2 separate regions of the Homo sapiens genome follow, and region 2 is linked to region 1. The links are contacts of gene promoters, found by promoter capture Hi-C in human tissues and cell types (Jung and others, 2019). All regions are on one chromosome and are shown on one strand. The core of a region is centred on a gene start or on the middle of the fragment in contact, and the rest is flanking DNA. Distances in the headings are between cores, read along the strand shown.

Region 1 (2,929 bases), core at 82-2,581:
GAACTTAATTACAAGAAAACGGATGCTAATATTCTGCTTGGAATTAAATCCCTTCTCAATAGAAAAGTGTTGCCAACCATTATTTCTCCACGCAGCTGTCACGTTAAAGCAAAACATTTAAAAGACGAAGTATTTCGTTTGGAAAGCAAGGAGAAAGCCCAAATAAGCTAAAACTTAAACCGGAATGCTCTAAAAGTTAATGAAATCACCAACATATTCAGCAATGTAAATTCGGTTACATCAACGTAAATCATGTGTTTTCACATAGCTGAAAGGTAAAAATTAGCATTCAAAATTCTTCTCCGTTCCTGAAGACACGTCCAATATTCACAAAGGTAAACTCTAGCTCAACATCGCCCACACTCCAGGTGTCCTTAATCCTATTAAATTCTAAAAATGTTTCCCTAACCCTATTTTTTACAAGAATCTTACAGGTCATAAGTTTAAAAGGGGGAGGGGGGAGAGGGTGAAGGCTTAATCGGTATTTAAGAGTCACTGACTCATCGAATTAAGATTCAAGAGCAGTTTGCTGCAGGAGGTGCTCCCACACATTAGTTTCCAAGTGAAACAGCTATAAAGGAAGTAGGATGGATACTGAAGGTATGGTGACTGGTATGTGAGTGAAAAAGGACGGGACAGGGGTCTCACAGGCAAAGGGGTAGTTTCTACTCCACTTCCATCCATCCACATTATTCCCTCTCATAGACGTACAATTGCCATCCTCTCCCAACACTTAATCCCCTACCCCAAAAGAAAGCAGCTAAATGTGGGAGGATGGGGAGGGGTGCTGCCACTAAAAATGGCTAAAGAAATCAGCTATCTCCAGAAGATGCACCGAACTCTCCAGGGTCGCAAGCTTTCCGGCACCCAAGTTTCGGATGGGTCTGGGGGAGAGCCGAGGGCGGATAGGGGGAGGGGGATTAGCAATCGAGATCAATGAGGCGCTTACTCGTTGTCAGAAGTCGCCGTCTCCTCGCTCATCTTTCCCTCACCGTGATCCGATCTGGAGATGGAGGAGCAACAGCAGGCGGGGGAGCAACAGCAGCACCGAGGGGCAGGAGGCAGCGGCGGCCGGGGGGGCGCGGGGGCAGCGGCACAGGGGCCTCACCATGGTGGATGCCTCACCCAGAACGGTACCCCCCCAGCCGGGAACCCCGGCCACCCCCGCAGGGGGGTGGCGGCAGCAACCTCCGCCGTGGCGACCCCAGCCTCTTCCCCCGCCTCAGTGCCCAGCCAAGGGATCCGAGGAGGCCCGGTGGAAAGGGAAAAAGAGAGGGGCTGCAAAGGCTGACTGGAGAGCTGCTCCTCCAGCCACTGGGGTGGAGCGCAGCGGGGTCCGGCCAGGAAGGAGTCGGCGGGCGGAGAACCCGGGAGCAGAGGCGGCGCTTCCCTCAGGGATGCGGCGAGGAGGAAGCAGAGCTCCGCTCGGTGGGGGCCGGCGGGGGGGTGCCGAGCCCAGGCTCCGGGCAGCGGCGGCGCGGTCCTGCCGGAGCCCACCCCACCATCTCCCGCCTCGCCGCCGGCTGCCCCTCAACCCCCGGCGGCGTCTGGGTCGGTCCTCAGGCGCCGGCAGAGCAGGGCTAGGGGCCCCGCGGCGGCGGATTCCTCCAGACACGCTCCAGCCGGGACTCCTCCTCAGGGGGGTGGAGGGGGCGGCGGGGAGCGTGTGAGGCGAGGGGCAGGCAAACCGATCGTTCCCACCCGGCCGGAGAAGAGCGGGCGGGCCCGGGTCCGGGGGGCAGGATCCCGAGAAGCGGCGGGAGAGGACAAGAGCGGCTGCAGGTTCCCCGCCAGCCAGTGCCCACCAGCAGCTCAGCGGGCCAGCTCCTCACGCCCGAGAGAGGGGAGCCGCGAGGGGGGCGGCGGAAGCGCTCACGCCGCCCGCTCCTTCCGCCGCCGCAGCCGCTGCCCGAACCGGGGGCGCCCGCGAGAGAAGGAGGCGAAGTAGTCCCTCGCGACTTCTCCCGGCCGCCCGCTTTCCCCGGAGGCCAGAGCGGGCGCGGGGTGGGGCTGCCGAGCGGGGTGCCCAGGCTGTGAGGGTGTGTGGGTAGGACTAAAAGCCGCGGCCTCCGGGCGAATCACTGCAACTCGAAGTCATGTGCAGCATAGCAAGTTTCAGGAAAGTAGTTCCCTCCTCCCTTCATTTCCCAAATCGTTGTCGAGCCACTTAGCGGAGAAAGGGGGAGGGAGGCGGAGGGATATCCTCCCTGCACCGTGCTCGGTGTGCGTGCGCGCGCTCCAAACTCTTGGCACGCCGCGAAAGGGGGCGGGGGTGGGAGCTGCGAGGGGAGCTGCTAGGGAGGTTGCATTGTTGTGGCGCGTTACTCCCCGTTACTCTGCTTGGAATATCCGGGTTGCTTGAACGAAGAGGCTAGAAAGACAGTGTGCTCAGAGGGGAAATCTGGAGGCTACTCTCTTCTGCCGTGTGTGTGTGTGTGTGTGTGTGTGTGTGTGTGTGTGTGTGTGTGTTTTCTTTGCAGAGCAAAGAATGGAACTGGCATGAGTTCATCTTTAGTTAGTGGGGGTTAGAAGCAGGGACTGCAAAGAGAGCTCCTCCTGCTGTCCCCCTGGTTGCACTGCTGCAGTCCCCTAGCTGCATGCACGAAGTGTATGTGTGTGTGTGTGTGTGTGTGTGTGTGTGTGAGAGAGAGAGAGAGAGAATATGAGAATGTATGTGTGTTTTAACACCTCGCCTCGCTGCCTGGATTCTTACTGCGCAAGGGGTATGCTATCAGGGCATTCATCTCGGAAAGCTGGAGTGATTGTTAATGGAGAACGACTTCCATTGAAGCCCAGGGTAGGCGTGTTACATGAATCTGGCGCAGCCAGAACGGAGGAAATAACTCCCGCTGCGAGTGAGGTTGCATAACTATAGCGCAGGAGATGCTTCTGTGGCACGAACTGCTCTGAACGGAGGCGGACCGATTGG
Region 2 (3,202 bases), core at 468-2,967, 1.1 Mb after region 1:
AAACCCATTCAGTACTCTTAGTAATGGGAAACTCTTCCTGTATGTACAAGCACTTTTTGGCCTACAAACAGGTTGTAGTCTAAGATGGTCTGTAACTCAGTTGTTGGGAATATGAGGCAAATCTTCTAAAAGCCAGGGTGTTATAAATTGTGACTCAGGGCTGGACCAACCTTCGACAACCGTTTAAATCTCGAATCTAACTCAGTGTGAGTTGCAAAACTACTTCCTGGTATGAAGCAAGAGGAAAATGACAATACTGAGAACTCAGTGCTTCTGTCCCAGGTCAGGTCCTGAACCTGGCATGTTCTCACTGCCCCTCACACTCTAGCACCTTGAGGCTCAATGCAAGAATGGAACCTGAAAGTTTCAGGCAAGTGCCATGATTTGCCATCTTCATTACTAACAGGATGTAGGAAGCTTTCATGGGTGAACAGTGGCCCAGATATCCCTCCCCTCGAACTCAAAGGCCCTTTTTGTTTGTTTGCTTTTTACACCAGAGTGAAGGATAAAAAGTGGAAGAGTTATATGTTTGTTTTTGATTATTTGGAAAACTTTCCGATTTTAGCAGAATGTCTGCCTACAAGTAAAGAGGATCTGTGAATGAAGAAAAGGAATGGTTTGATTACCTTTTTAAAGATTATCCCCATAGGCAAGGCAGGCCTGAGAGTGCGCTCTGGGAGAGAAAGTTCAGTTTGGGGTTCCCTTTTAACTAACTGGGTAATACAGTATTGAGAGATTGACTCTTCATAGGAAATCTTCAAAAACCTGGCTACAGAACGTCTTTTTTTGAGGAAAATGATTTCCCTGCCATTGAACCCTAGCTAAGCAAGACTTTTGAGATTGCTTTAATCATCAGCGGCTTCAGTGTCTTGGTAGTGAGTGAAAACGGGATTAGGGTGGAATAAGGGGGAGAAGTTTCCAGTGACCCGTGGTGAACCAGTGTTAAGAGACCTCCCCCCTTCAAATAGGCCCTGCATGTGTAAAAGTCAATTTCTACTTTATGAGGGATTAGAACCAGAGAGCGGCTCATATTTAAACCCTGCAAAGATAAGGAACGGTGAGTTTACCCCAAATTAGCTTTCAAAATAGCTCTGATCTAGTAATTTGCCCAGTAATTTCCCCAGACTGGGGCAGGTCTGAAGAATTTAAAAAGAGGAGGAAGTGGTATCTGATAAACCTATGGTTTAGGATAGCTGAATTTGGGGTGGAGGGGGGAGTGGAGGAAGAAGGTAAAAGAAGAGGAAGAAATGTGGGGAAGGGAGAGAGAGAGGAGGGAGAGAGAGAGAGGGAGAGAGAGAGAGAGAGAGAGAGAGAGAGAGAGAGAGAGATCGAACTCCACCAGGTTGCCTTCATTTCCCCGCAAGATTTCACCCACTATGAGCTTCGGTTGTTGCTTTGTTTATGCAAAGTTAGTCGGCCTGAGACACAGGGAAAGTGCTGAGATCCACGCTGAAGAACGCAAAAATGATTTTTAAAATGTAAATGAAACCACGCACACACACACACGCACACACACACTGGGTCGGGGCAATCCCTGCCCGTAGACTTAGAAATGAAAACACGCCGAGGAGGGCGGGCGGGAGGCCGCGGCAGCAGCGGGGAGCGTTGTCGGTGACCGAAGGAGCTCTGGTGAATATCAGGTTCGGATTAGTGACAACTCAGAAGTCACGCCGGCGGTTGGGGGAGGGAAGTTTGCCAAGGTCTCAGAACTCGACGGAAGAGACAGCGGCTTCCCTTGGCGCCGGGCGGAGCGGGGCGTACGCAGAGAGACCTCTGTCCCGGCCCGAGCCAGCTCACCCCCAGCTCTCACACCCCGCCCTGAGATTGAGTTTGTCAGCGATCATAAAATGGGAATTGATTATTCCAGCCACCATTGATTAGGGAAGAATGCTTACTGCAGCAGCGGGGAAAAGGTTAAGAGGAAATTGACCTTCTTCCTAGGTGACATAAAGTCATTAGGTAAATGAGATATTCACACTGGAGTTTTAAAAGGTCACGCTCAATTTTTATTTGTAGCCTGAAGAGTCAAGCTGGAGCTGGGGCTTAGGGCAGGGACCCCGCTCTTCTGGACAAGCAGACCGACAGGGAGACAACTGTCTTGCTGCGCTGGGCAGGGCCAAGGTGGGAGGTGGGTTATTGTCTGGGGAGGATCGCACTGGAATTGGTGGAGTCCCGGGCCCCCGAACTCTGCGCCTCCTGCCTGACCCGTGTGTGCGCCTCTGTGCATGTGTCCCTCTGGGGCCCTGCGCTTCGCGCGGCGTCTCCTCCGTTCCAGTCACCCGTCAGCAAAGGGATGCCGGGCAGAGGCAGACGATTACAAACACTTACCCTACCATAGCCGGCCACGTATCACACAGAGTGAAAGTGTTTTGTTTTGTTTTTTAAGGAGAGGGTGAGAGATATATTTATGCACATATTTATCCCTCTAATTATAGGAATTAATCCTCTTACTTATGACTAAAAGGTAACGTGGAAGGACGTCTCTTTGATGTGGAAAAGCACCATTTGTGACTCACATTCAGACTGATTAAGGAATAATTGTTGTTAAACGCTTTACAAGAGGAGAGTGTTTAATTGAGGGGCATTCGTAATTTTACGGCTTAGTACGAAATTAAACGTAATTAAAAACTCAGAAATTCCAACTGATTTTCCAATTATTTTTATTGTCTGAGTTAATTATTACACAAGGGTATCACTTTGCCCTAAAGGCATTTTTTTAAAAAGCAAGCATACCTTTTCCAAATATAGCAGAGAAGCGATTCAAAGCTTTCTCCAGGTACAAGCCTGGTAAAGGACCTTCCTTCTTCACTCCCCTCTCCTTCGGTCCCCCGCGCGCCCCTCCTTCGCCTCCGGTAATTAAGCGTTTCAGCCACTCTCCCCTCTCTCTGAGTTCCTGCAACACCTTGGGATGTGAGAAAGTGATGGCAGTTCTCTTCTGCAGATCATTACAGCAAAACTGGAAGTATCTGTAGAAGGCTGATGAATTTCTTGCAGTAACACTTGTCATACATGGCGGCGAGATTTTTTTTAAAACAAGCTAAGTAAACACAGCTCTCTGGGGGCGATCCCTCGATGCCTCTGCCTTGGGGTGTGTGGCAGGAGGGAGGTAACACCCAAGTACCGACTGGAAGTTGTTTATAAACTCGCACACGAAGACGTACAGATGCACGCTGGAAACTTTCTTTGGTTTGCACTTCTATTT

The links. The method cuts DNA at HindIII sites, captures the fragments that hold promoters and counts their contacts. A contact is called where the count stands out against the background at its distance.
Region 2: a contact is called between a fragment that was not itself captured here and the fragment with the promoter of SPRED1 in region 1, in 1 of the 25 tissues and cell types used here (dorsolateral prefrontal cortex).

The regions. Positions count from the first base shown.
Region 1 is chr15:38,251,238-38,254,166 of GRCh38, reverse strand. SPRED1 (sprouty related EVH1 domain containing 1) reads right to left here and starts at 1,331. Exons shown (of 7, transcript NM_152594.3): 1 at 950-1,331. The coding sequence starts at 981. RefSeq lists silencers at 1,122-1,171, 1,182-1,241, 1,422-1,521, 1,622-1,671, 1,682-1,981 and 2 more. The HindIII fragment of the contact is 9,791 bases long and covers 1-2,929 here.
Region 2 is chr15:37,109,426-37,112,627 of GRCh38, reverse strand. It overlaps LOC124903465 (a long non-coding RNA gene), which reads right to left. Exons shown (of 2, transcript XR_007064581.1): 2 at 2,644-3,202. Among named protein-coding and RNA genes, the nearest start is that of MEIS2, 10 kb to the right of the region's middle. RefSeq lists a silencer at 2,211-2,260. The HindIII fragment of the contact is 4,400 bases long and covers 1-3,202 here.